Regions from separate parts of the Homo sapiens genome. Here regions 1 and 2 are each linked to region 3. The links are contacts of gene promoters, found by promoter capture Hi-C in human tissues and cell types (Jung and others, 2019). All regions are on one chromosome and are shown on one strand. Each heading gives the region's core, a stretch centred on a gene start or on the middle of the fragment in contact. The rest is flanking DNA. Distances are from core to core; before and after follow the strand shown.

The links. The method cuts DNA at HindIII sites, captures the fragments that hold promoters and counts their contacts. A contact is called where the count stands out against the background at its distance.
Region 1: a contact is called between a fragment that was not itself captured here and the fragment with the promoter of EI24 in region 3, in 1 of the 25 tissues and cell types used here (liver).
Region 2: the fragment with the promoter of HEPACAM here is called in contact with the fragment with the promoter of EI24 in region 3 in 2 of the 25 tissues and cell types used here (aorta and dorsolateral prefrontal cortex).

The regions. Positions count from the first base shown.
Region 1 is chr11:126,252,381-126,256,406 of GRCh38, reverse strand. FAM118B (family with sequence similarity 118 member B) reads right to left here. Exons shown (of 9, transcript NM_024556.4): 6 at 1,974-2,102. It also overlaps a transcript of SRPRA not described here. Among named protein-coding and RNA genes, the nearest start is that of SRPRA, 15 kb to the left of the region's middle. The HindIII fragment of the contact is 4,042 bases long and covers 444-4,026 here.
Region 2 is chr11:124,934,321-124,938,531 of GRCh38, reverse strand. It overlaps HEPACAM (hepatic and glial cell adhesion molecule), which reads left to right and starts at 2,485. Exons shown (of 7, transcript NM_152722.5): 1 at 2,485-2,610. The coding sequence starts at 2,526. All of the region lies in intron 1 of LOC107984406 (a long non-coding RNA gene), which reads right to left. The HindIII fragment of the contact is 7,366 bases long and covers 1-3,480 here.
Region 3 is chr11:125,567,520-125,571,442 of GRCh38, reverse strand. EI24 (EI24 autophagy associated transmembrane protein) reads right to left here and starts at 1,966. Exons shown (of 11, transcript NM_004879.5): 1 at 1,870-1,966. It overlaps STT3A-AS1 (STT3A antisense RNA 1), which reads left to right. Exons shown (of 4, transcript NR_132372.1): 3 at 1,001-1,153; 4 at 3,325-3,335. RefSeq lists enhancers at 1,249-1,298, 1,801-2,302 and a silencer at 1,739-2,298. The HindIII fragment of the contact is 7,956 bases long and covers 1-3,923 here.

The sequences.
Region 1 (4,026 bases), core at 1,215-3,714, 680 kb before region 3:
CTGTAACTTGATGATTGGTCTAAAATTTTATCTTTACCTGCCATTCTTCTGTAGGCTCTCTAATCAGCGTTTCATAGAGCTGGTGTCAGTGTACTGGTGCAGTAGTTTACTTCTTTATTTTTTATGCTTTATATATTTTTTGAGACGGAGTCTCACTCTTTCACCTGGGCTAGAGTGTAGTGGTGTGACCTCGGCTTACTGCAACCTCCACCACCCTGGTTCAAGTGACTCTCATGCCTCAGCCTCCCGAGTATATTACAAGTGTGCACCACCACACCCAGCTAATTTTTGAATGTTTAGTAGAGACGGGGTTTTGCCATGTTGGCCAGGCTGGTCTGGTACTCCCGACCTCGAGTGATCCACCCACCTTGGCCTCCCAAAGTGCTGGGATTACAGGCGTGAGCCACTGCACTTGGCCAGTAGTTTACTTTTTTATTTTTATTTTATTTTTGAGACAGAGTCTTGCTCTGCCACCTAGGCTGGAGTGCAGTGGCATGGTCTTGGCTCACTGCAACCTCCTCTGCCTCCCAGGTTCAAGCGATTCTCCTGCCTCAGACTCCCAAGTAGCTGGCATTACAGGCACCTGCCAGCACGCCCAGCTAATTTTCCTATTTTTAGTAGAGACAGGGTTTCACCATGTTGGCCAGGCTGGTCTGGAACTCCTGACCTCATGTGATCTGCCTGCCTCAGCCTCCCAAAGTGTTGGGATTACAGGCGTACTTTTTTAGATTTATGTGCCCAGAGGTCATTGTGCAAAGAGTAGGTCTTCATATATCTTAATCCTTCCATTTCTGGACCATATTTGCCTTTGTCTCACAAACTGAACTGTGAATCACCAGAGAAGATAATTCCATCATCGGATTTGCTCAAGGAAAGGCGTTTGATACTTAGAACATCAGTATGTGTGTGTGTGTGTATACATATACACACACAAAAACACAGAAATGACTGCCTAAGGGATCACTCAATGTCAGAGATGGATGCAGTTATGGCAGATGTTGGGAAAGAATGGGTAAAAAGAAAAAAAAGTCCCTTGTGCTTTAGACAATACATTTTCTCGGTCTTTTGCCTCATTATTAAAAGATGCTATAATCTATATGACCCAGTCCTGAAAACAGCAAACAAGATTCTTAGAGCTGGGGGCAGCGAATACTTCTGGTTTGAACATGTTTATCTGAACAAGTCGAAAATGTGCATCCCAAAAGATCAATAAGCTTTTCACAAAGAGTAAGTGTGAATAAATGTGGTTAATTCAATATAAGCCCATTGCCATTTATACAAAGTCTCTTTAGAATGTATTCTCTAGTAGTGGTTGGTTTGTTAAGAAGCTGCCTCAATTATTTCTGACACAGAGAGGGCTATTAATAAACCAAATGATGATAAAGGGTACTAATGTATCCTTTGTATGTGAAGATGATGCCAATGATGACATGCCATCTGCTGGTTGTCAATTAAGTACAAACAAAGATCATAGGGTTTGACACCTTAAGAGAAATTCTACATTTCCTAGACAGCATGCACACCCATAAGTTAAGAAGCACAGGAAGAACGTCTGACTTTCCAGTTTCTTTCTTTTTTTAGAGATAGGGCCTTGCTCTGTCACCCAAGCTGGAGTGCAGTGGCTCTAGACACAGCTCACTACAGCCTTATATTCCTAGTCTCAACTAATCTTCCTGCCTCAGCCTCCCAAGTAGCTGGGACAGCATGCACCATGATGCCTAGCTAATTTTATTTTTGTAAAGACAAGAGTCTCGCTATGTTGCCCAGGCTGGTCTCGAACTCCTGGCCTCAGGTGATCCTCTCCCCTTGGCCTCCCAAAGTGTTGGGATTATAGGCATGAGCCACTGCTCCTAGCCCCTGACCTTCCGTTTTCACTTAATGAAAAGAAGATGTTCCCCTTTAAGATCTATGGCATATTTAGAGAGATTTCCCAGGAAGGAGTTCCTGAGACCAGCAAGATCAGCCCCACTCACCATGACTTCAGTGTTCCTGAGCACGTTCTGATATCCAGCCGGATGAAGGACAATGCCACTAGGGTTGGTGTAGACTCCGTGAATATGCAACACGCTCAGCTTACGCTTCTCCTGAGCCCACTCGAGGACCTGCACAACACACATATAGCCCAACCAGCTTGGCAGGGCTGAGCACCTGTTTAAAGGTCACAATGGGCAAGAGGCTGTTTTGAGGACTAGACTTCTGACATAAACTCTCTAGCTTCATGATATAGGACAAGAATGCAAAACCTGATGTGGTCTAAGTTTCCACTTCAGGAATGACTGTCAAGAATGATGGCAACAAATTTGGTGATTTCTCTTTGAAAGTAAGCATCAAAAATCACAATTTGTCATAATTTGCAGAAACAACAGGGACCCTTTGCACTGGTGGCATGCATGAGAGCTATGGACAACTGCTTCAGTGATCGCCCCAAGAAATCAAGCCTCTGTATCCAGGCCCTTGTGTGGCCCCTCTTCGGAGTGACTCCAGGCTAACCACATGGCTTGCTTTTAGCCAATGGGATACTAGCAAACACACACAAGCAGAAGCTTGAAAAGTGTTGGCACAAGAAGTCTTACTTCTCTTGTGTTACTTTTGGAATCCAGCTGCCATGCGAAGAAAGTGAAGAAGCCTGGGCTAGCCTGCTGGGACATATATGGCCTGGCCAATTGCTTGCAGGGAAGTATGGTCCCCTTATATCACTCAGCCCTGGTGCGGCCATCAGATGTCTGCAGGTATGTGAAGAGGGTGCAAAAATCAGCAGAAAAAATGCCTGGCTGAGTCACTGAGCCCAGTTCAAATTGTTAATATACTTTATCATGGGCAGATAAGATATTTGTTGTTACAAGCCACAAAGTTTCACGGCCATTACTTGTACAGCAATAGATAAGTGATAGAAAAATCACTTCAGTCACCTCTGAGGAACCTAAAAGGCTGCCAGCGAAGAACAATCATTTAGACAACAGCGAATGCAATAGCCACCTGATTCCATGGCTCCATTTTCCCAAGGACTGGAGACAGCATACATTTATTCTTATCACATTTTGGAGAAATAGGCTATGAATCAGGAAAGTAGTCAAGAGGCACCGAGATTTAGAATTTGAATGTTACTAGGCCCCATTCTGACTACCAGTCAATGTCTTTAACCATTAGACTGCAACACTGCCCCTAATGTGGGCTGAAAATACAATGCAAATCTTGAGGCCCAAGGATGAAATGAGAAGGAAAACATCAAATGTGATAGATATCCTCAGCTTTTAAAAGGTCCTTATGCTTCTGATATCCATGAACACACTTGGTCATAATCTTTGGAAATTTTATCACAAATAGCATAGAAGCTGCTAGTTTTAAAATTTCAATCATTTGTTTGTTTGTTTTTAGACAGAGTCTTGGTCTGTTGCCCAGATTGGAGCACAGTGGCGCAATCTTGGCTCACTGAAACCTCTGCCTCCTGGGTTCAAATGATTCTCCTGCCTCAGCCTCCCAAGTAACTGGGATTACAGGCGTGCACCACCACTCCCAGCTAGTTTTTGTATTCTTAGTAAAGACGGGGTTTCACCATGTTGGACAGGCTGGTCTCAAAATCCTGACCTCAAGTGATCCACCCACCTCGGCCACCCAAAATGCTGGGATTACAGACGTGAACCACTGTGCCCAGCCTATTTATTTAGAGACATGATCTTATGCTGTCACCCAGGCTGGAGTGCAACAGTGTGATCACAACTCACTGTAGCCTCGACTGCCTCAGCTCAATCGATCGTCCTGCTTCAGCCTCCCAAGTAGCTGGGACCACAGGCAAACACCACCATGCCCGGCTAATTTTTAAACTTTTTGTAGAGATGGGGTCTTGCTATGATGCCCAGGTTGGTCTTGAACTAGGCTCAAGTGATCCTCCCGCCTCAGCTTCCCAAAGTGCTGGGGTTACAGGCCTGAGCTGCTGTGCCCAGCCCAATCATTTATTAATCAAAAAAATATTTACCAAGCACCTAACTGTCATATTTGAGACATGAGGGTTGTATTTGAGTTATGAGG
Region 2 (4,211 bases), core at 1,236-3,735, 630 kb after region 3:
CTTAAATCAAAGAGCTCTCTGTTTCTTAGGAGAGAAAGGCACATAAGTAGATGATTATAAGTTTCTAAAGGCCTACTCAGTCGCTGGAAGCAAGATTGCAAAATTACTCCTCATACATTCCAACGTACAAAGGAAAGGGAAGGCCTTTATGTCTTTGTAGTTGCTGTGATCTTCCACATGAACCTCTCACCGCCCCCAGGGTAGCAGAGGAAAATATCACTCCATCTCAGTAAGCCCAGTCTGATCCAACCATTTTCACACTGTCTTTAGGTAGCTCAGTCTCTGCTTGGACAGCTCAGGCAATTGCTCAAGCAGTCTTTCCAATGTCCTCTCCCAATCCCAGCTCCTCTCTAATAAGAGTTGGGGTAAATATACATGGTGTGGCTGAAGTAACCTTGTGGCAACAGGGGGAGACAGTGTCTGTGGACCTGTGTGGTATTCTCAGGTTTCCCACCAGTCTCTACTCAGGGTCTACATTTTTTCCTGGCCTGATGAGCTACCTGAGGCTCCCACCACAGCAGTAGGTGGTCCCAGCTGTTGCCTCTGGCCTCAGAATCCCCGTACATGGCAGTGCCTTTGCTCAATCTTCTGTTTCCTGCCAGTTCTTTACCCTCTCGGCACTTCTGAGTCTCCTAAAGGGCTTCTGGACACCTAGAAGCCCTTGCAAATTCTGTGCAGGTATAAAGAGCCACCTCTGGGGCGGGGAAGTGGGGATATTGAGAACTTAGATCCTTTTAGTCTCCCTCTAGCACATTTTTCTTTCCACAGTGCTTCAGGATAACAAGGGCAGACTTCGGGCTTTCTATTTCCCAAACACTGCATCCTCCTTTTACTCCCATCCATAAGCCTCAAGGCCCAGCCATCACAGGCAAAGAGGCCATTTATCTACACTCCAGAAGGACTCTGTGATCCAGTCCACAGGCTGATCTATGATATGTCAAGGGGTAGATAAAAGAAATTAGAATGCTCTTTTGTCCCTTACAAAGACTGGCTAAGCCTTTCATCTTGCTATGGACTTTGAAATGCTATTTTAAATGTCAGAAGCTGAATATTGACTCTTTTTGTGTACCTGCTATAATAACATTACCTCTTCCAGTGGAAGAAAGGTGCCTTGAGTTGTCTAGGGAAAAGTCATAAACACAGAAATGCAAAAGGAAAAAAGAATCCCCTTTATATATTTCAGAATGTTTTCAGAGAGGTCTGTGAAGTTCAGTGCTTCCCAACTCTTCTCCCTCTGCCGAGGCTCAGAAGGGCTATGTAATAATGCTTCAGTTCTAGAAAGTTGACCTACTCAGGCTTTCTCCAGTATGTAAAAAGAATATTTAGAGAGATAATTGCTGCACTTACAAAACCAAGACCAGGGGTTAGGGATGACCAAGAAGGAAGTTGTGAAGTTTGGTCTCCCAAAAATATAAAGATCCCAGCATGAATGAAAAAAGAAACAAGGCAATTTTTAAAAAGTTTAAAACATCATCTCTGTAACAAAGGATTTGCTAGGTACTCTTCTGTACCAAATCTCCATCAACGCTCCCAACAATTCCCCTCAAGGAAGCTCTTCTTTTCCCCATTTTACAGATGAGAAATTGAAGGCTCAAAGAGGTTGCGAGCCCATCCCAAGATCACAGTTACTAGGCATCCATTCCCTTGGCCGCCCTCATGAAAAGGTGTGAACACATGAATGGGGGTCAGAGTAGAGCTAGAGTGTTTCTCCTCTTCACAGCCTCAAAACAGGAGGGCACAGCTAGGCTGTTAAGCTGGTAACAGAACCCTAGGATGCTGGCTGTTAGGAGATGACCTTCATTTTGCTCAGACATGTTCTAGAAAATTGCCTGAAAGCAGGGGAATGAACAGAGTGGCTTCTGGAAAGAGGTGTCCAGCATCTATGTGATTCTATGATAGAAGAGAAAATTCCAAGCCACGGAAAGACAAGTGTAACAATAATAGAATTCAAGCTGTTTTCCAGTCTTCTTCCTTTGGGATGGAACAGGGGTTTTCCATTTCTTCAGCAGTTGTCTGGAGTCTTTCACTTCCCAGCTTTTTAAAATCTCTTCTCCCTCCCTTTTCAGAGCTTATTGGAGGTCTGTCCTGGCATGTACCCTCCTCCTCAGGGAGAAGGAGTGTTAGGTGGAGACAGGGTAGGTTGGGACACAAAGTCCAGTTAAGTGTGTGTCCCAGCTCAGTGCTCTGAGCCCAGATCCTCATCTCCCTGGGTAGTGAGGCTCAGCACAGACAAGCAACCAACTGCTGGGCTGCCGGTGCCCCCCATGTTGGAACCTGAGTTGGAGATTATCTCCTAAGCAGATACCTGCTTCCAAACTGGGGATGTAGGGCTTGGAAACTAGAAAATGCCAGGTCTGAGGGAGAGGAAAGAACAAGTCCAGCAATACACAGAGCTCTGTGTATTCAGAGGGAAGTTGGCAGGGTTGTGTTCGGGCAGAGAAACTCCGAGTGGTACAAAGGGGACGTGCCCAGAGTGGAGAAATCATGCTAATTGTCTGCACTAGAGCTGGAGAACGCCACCCAAAATGAAGAGAGAAAGGGGAGCCCTGTCCAGAGCCTCCAGGGCCCTGCGCCTTGCTCCTTTTGTCTACCTTCTTCTGATCCAGACAGGTAGGAGGCCAGAGGGTAAGAAAGGGTCTGAAGAAAGGACCCGGGGCTTTTACAGCAGACGGAGGGGAGAGTGGAGGGCCTGAATGCCTTTGGGGCAGGAGTGGGGGAGAGTTCAGCTGCCGTGGGAAACATGTCAGGGAATTCAGGCATTAGCGTTGAACGTATTTCTTTATTTTGTGTGCCTCCCGCGCGGCCCCTACCCCCTTCCCCCAAAAGGCTGCATGACTTTGGAGCTCCCACGGCATTCAGTACATTAGATGGCGGGCACTGGGCCATTTCGTATGGGATGACTTGTTGGCGTGGGCCAGTCTGGCATTCTTTCCAAGGGATTGTGGTGGGGCTTGATGGGTAGGGGTAGGGGAAATTTTCTTTTTATACCTCCCCAGCCCCCGACTCTGGCTTCTCTGTGTGTAAAAGAGTAAGGCAGATGAAAGAAGCTTTGGAGATAATGAGCCTCCTAATGTGGGATAGTCATACCCACCTATCCATAATTCACTCCACTCCATAGCTGCTTACCTCCTCTACCGCCCCCTACCAATCCTTTGAGAAGTGATCTTATTTAAATATACCTATTTATGAGTACATACACATATACACACACACACACACACACAATTACAGAGCACCTAGGAATTCACAACTTAGTGAGGCAAACAGATGTGGAGATCATTTTACTAAACTGCAGGAACTATCATAAGTCAATTATGCAGAGAATGCATAGCAATCAGAGAAAGGTCACCTACCCCATCCAGGAAGCTGGTGCTGGTGGAGGGGGTGTTGGTAGGGTAGGACACAGGGTGTGGGAATATCAGGGGGAGGTTTTCTGGTAGAAGGAATGTGTGCACTGAATTTTAAAAGATGGGGAAAAAAGGTAGGAGTATAAGTGGGTGTTAGGGTTGGGAAATGAGCAAAGGTCAACAGCTTGAAATAACATCAAGTGTTTAGTCAGAGCCCAGCAGTTCATCACTGCTGGAGAGAAAAGCATGAATTGAGTGAGGCAAGAGCTTTGTAAACCAGACTCGTAATCTGGGGATTGAGAGGTGAGGGAATGAGCGGTTTTTAATTTGGGGACTGTCAGGGTTACATGTACCTTTCAGATAGCTTACTCAGTCTGCAGGGGGTCATTCGAGGGGAAACTGGAGGCAAATAAAATAAGAAAGGAAGTTTGTATTCATTTTCTAGGGCTCCTATAACAAAATACCACAAACTGAGTGGCTTAAACAACAGAAATGCATTATCTCAAAGTCGTGGAAGCCAGAAGTGGGAGATCGAGGTGTCAGCAGGGCCATGCTCTCTCTGAAGCTTCTAGGGAGGGCTCTGCCTTAGGGTTCTCTCCTAGCTTCTGGTAATTCCTTGACTTGTGGCAGCATCACTCCAGTCTTGGTATGGCATTCCCCGTGTTTGCATGTCTATGTCCACATTTCCCCTTTTTATAAGGACACATACTAGATTAGGTCCATCCTACTCCAGTATGATCCCTTCTTATTAGATCTGCAGTGACCCCATTGCCAAATAAGTTCACATTCTGAGGTACTTGGGGGTTAGGACTCCAACGTATGAATTTGAGGGGAACACAGGTCAAAAAGCTATTGCAATAGATC
Region 3 (3,923 bases), core at 717-3,216:
TGGGATATCTAGTTTCAAAAATTAAGAACTTGAGAGTTCATGTGAGAAATACTTGTAATTAATATACTATTCTCTCATTTAATCTGTGGTGACTTCTAAGATGAATAGAAAACCCACTTTCAGGCATTTTTTAAGAACCTGATATTCTAAAGTTCTCAACACTCACTCAATCAAGTTGCAGTATTCTCAGTTTAAGAGGTATGACCATAATACAAAGACAGAATTTCACAAGCAGCTTGTACAAACCTTAAATTTCAAAATATAAGCACACTTTCCCCGACCTTTAACCACTTCACCAAACTGCTCCTCATTGACCCAACTGGACTAATGCCATTCAGAACTGGAAGAGCAGGGGATATGGCAGTAGGAAGGCAATTTGCCCAACATTGTATATACCCTCTGCTCCTTAGGTCAAATCCTACACAGATAGGCTCACTTCGGATAGAAGTCTCTAGGGTAAGAAACTTCTGTTAATACTCCCACTGTTTCCTCCTGAAAACAAACACCTCAGAGTTCCAGTCGCGTAGGTACAGCCATACAGACATGTTCTCAGGGTTGAGGTGAGGGCAGCTGAGCTAGATAACTAGCAAAGGCTCAGTGATATGCACGACACTAGTTTGTAAAGACTCACAGATCCACTCCCGTAACCTGCCACTGGCTCATCTATAAATTAAGGGTACTAAACTTCTTCATAGGTTTCTTGCATCTAATAGGGCACAACAGCATGAAAAAAACTTAAAATTCTATATAAACACAACCCCACCAAAGTGAGCCAGCTTGGAGGTTTAAGGAAGCCCATTACTTGGCCTGGATTTCTCACAGGGAACTGACAGGGAACCTGAAACATTCTGTCTCAGTCCACAACAGCTGTGTCATTTGATCCCTGGCCAGCTAACACCTGGTTTCTGCATGTACCAAGTGGCAGGACACCTCCTAAGAGTGACCTATGAAGGATAAATCACTTCACTTTTATACTTAGATCCTAACATCCTTCCTACAGGAATATTTGGTGAATTACCCAGTCTGACAAATAGCTGAGGCATGGGGAAAAATAACCTGCCACAATTTGAGAACACACACACAGACTGAATGACACAGGGGGAATCCTACAGCTGAGCTAGACAGATGAAGATGCATCTGGCTCATTTAACAGGTGAGAGAACCCAGTCTCAGAAGTTAAATGACTTGCCCAGACTGACAGCAAATGAATGGCAGCTACAGTGAACCTCAGAACCCGGTGTTCTAACGTTACCTCGGTCGAGACTTGTTTTTACTTAAGCTTTGCAATGAAGATTTTTGTTTTAACACGAGCATCCCATGGACAAATAACCTCTCAAACCTGGAAATACAAATGCCATTAAATTCCCAACAGTCATTAGAAGCTAATAAGCATCTGCTGAGACACACTTTTATTTCTAAGTCACTAAACCCAAGTCTCGGCAAACAGGAAGCTGTCGTAGCCCACTCCAGGTACAGGGAAGGTAAACATCCTCACTTCCCACGGGGCTCCACGGGCTGCCTCTGAGTCCACGGGTCCATTCAGGCCCATCTCCCCACAGCTCCTAGGCAATTCGGCAGAAAACTGGTCTCCCTAGGCACAACTGTGCACGAGGTACGGATCACGCGAGGTGCGGATCACGCACGCTCCGGGTCACACAGGGAGCTAAAGATAGCTGCGCCGCACCTGGGGCAGCCTCGCCCGGGGATGTGCCCGGCCCCGTCCCGCTCCCTCCGGCCCCTTCCCATAAGGGGTCCTCGCCGGTAGCCCCACCAACCCACGCTCGGGCCCTGCCTGCCCTCCCGGTCCCTGCCACTCAGAATGGGCGGCGCGGCGGCCCCGAGGCCTAGCTCGGCTGAGCCCGCACCTACCCACAGCTCCGCCGCCGCGGCTCCGGCCCTGCCCCTAGCCCACCGCAGGCCAGCTCCGCCGGGGCGCTTCCAGGGCCGGGGCCGCTGCGCCCGCACTGGGCATGCCCGGGCCGCACGGGGCCGCTGGGAAGTCGGGCGAGCGCGAAGAACCAGCCGGCACCACGAGGCGGGGCCCAGAGCCGAAGGGGTGGGCCGCGCGGAGCGACGGAGACTGGGAAATGTAGTCAGTCCGGGGTCCCGCCTCGCGCTGCGTGCGGGATCGTCCGGCTCCCAACTCCGCCTGGCGGCGGAGAGGACCCCTCACCCCTCCGCGTCGCCTCCTCCCCGTCGCCTCCTCGCCGATCCCGTTCTCACAGATCTCTCCTCCTGTTCTTTGCCCTCCCCCATTGACTCCACAACGCTGCTTGCGTTTCTAAAATCCTGTGAAATTAGTAACAGGATGCCTTTAATCCCAGCATTTTGGGAGGCCAAGGCAGGCAGATCACGAGGTCAGGAGTTCAAGACCAGCCTGGCCAACATAGCGAAACCCCATCTCTACTAAAATAACAAAAATTAGCCAGGTGTGGTGGTACCTGCCTGTGGTCCCAGCTACTCAGGAGGCTGAGGCAGGAGAATTACTTGAACTCAGGGGATGAAGGTTGCAGTGAGCCGAGATCACACCACTGCACTCCTGCCTGGGCGACTGAGCAAGACTCAGTCTCAAAATAATAATAATAATAATAAATTTAAAAAATGAAATAAAATAAGTGGCTGGGCACGGTGGCTCATGCGTGTAACCTCAGCACTTTGGGAAGCTGAGGCGGGCAGATCACTTGAGGCCACCCTGGCCAAGATGGTGAAATCCCGTCTCTACTAAAAATACAAAAAATTAGCTGGGCATGGTGGCACACACCTGTGGTCCCAGCTACTTGGTCGGCTAAGGAATGAGAATCACTTCAATTCAGGAGGCAGAGGTTGCGGTGAGCCGAGATCGCACTACTGCACTTCAGCCTGGGTGACACAGCTAGACTGTCTCGAAAAATAAAATAAAATAAAACAAAACAAAACAATATAAAATAGAATAGAATAAGGAATCCATCTACTAAAGCTTAGAAATCTTGTTACAAAGAGACCTAAGTGGTTTAATGACAAACTGATTATTGTGCTATTAATTATAATAATAGCTCTTCCTCCAAGCTCTATTCTTTCTCAAGAGTGTCAATTTAGAAAAGATTTTAGAAAGAATTTAGTAGGTATGAGTTTATTCTGGCTTACTTCATGGGAGGAAATCTTTTTTTTTTTTTTTTTTTGAGACTGAGTCTGTCTTTGTCTCCCAGGCTGGAGTGCAGTGGTGCGATCTCGGCTCACTGCAAGCTCCGCCCCCTGGGTTCACGCCATTCTCCTGCCTCAGCCTCCTGAGTAGCTGGGACTACAGGCACCTGCCACCAAGCATGGCTAATTTTTTTGTATTTTTAGTAGAGACGGGGTTTCACCGTGTTAGCCAGGATGGTCTCGATCTCCTGACCTCGTGGTCCGCCCACCTACAGCCTCCCAAAGTGCTGGGATTACAGGCGTGAGCCACTGCGCCTGGCCGGGAGGAAATCTTTTAAATCTCAACATGTATAACCACATTTAAAATAAAAACCAATAATAATTAATACCTTGCATTTTTAAAGAGCTCTCACATGCTTATGTATGATTAGATGCTATTTGTGGACAAGTAGAGGATATTATTTTCCAAATTTCACAAATGAGGAAGTTTGTGGCAGAGCACTTTGAGAAGACATGACCTCCAGTTAAGCTGTGAACCTTAGTTTCTTTTTTTTTTTTTTTTTTTTTTTGAGACAGTGTCTCTCTATCTTGGCTCACTGCAAGCTCCACCTCCCGGGTTCACACCATTCTCCTGTCTCAGCCTCCCAAGTAGCTGGGACTACAGGTGCCCGCCACCACGCCCGGCTAATTTTTTGTATTTTTAGTAGAGACGGGGTTTCACCATGTTAGCCAGGATGGTCTCGATCTTCTGACCTCGTGATCCACCCGCCTTGGCCTCCCAAAGTGCTGGGATTACAGGTGTG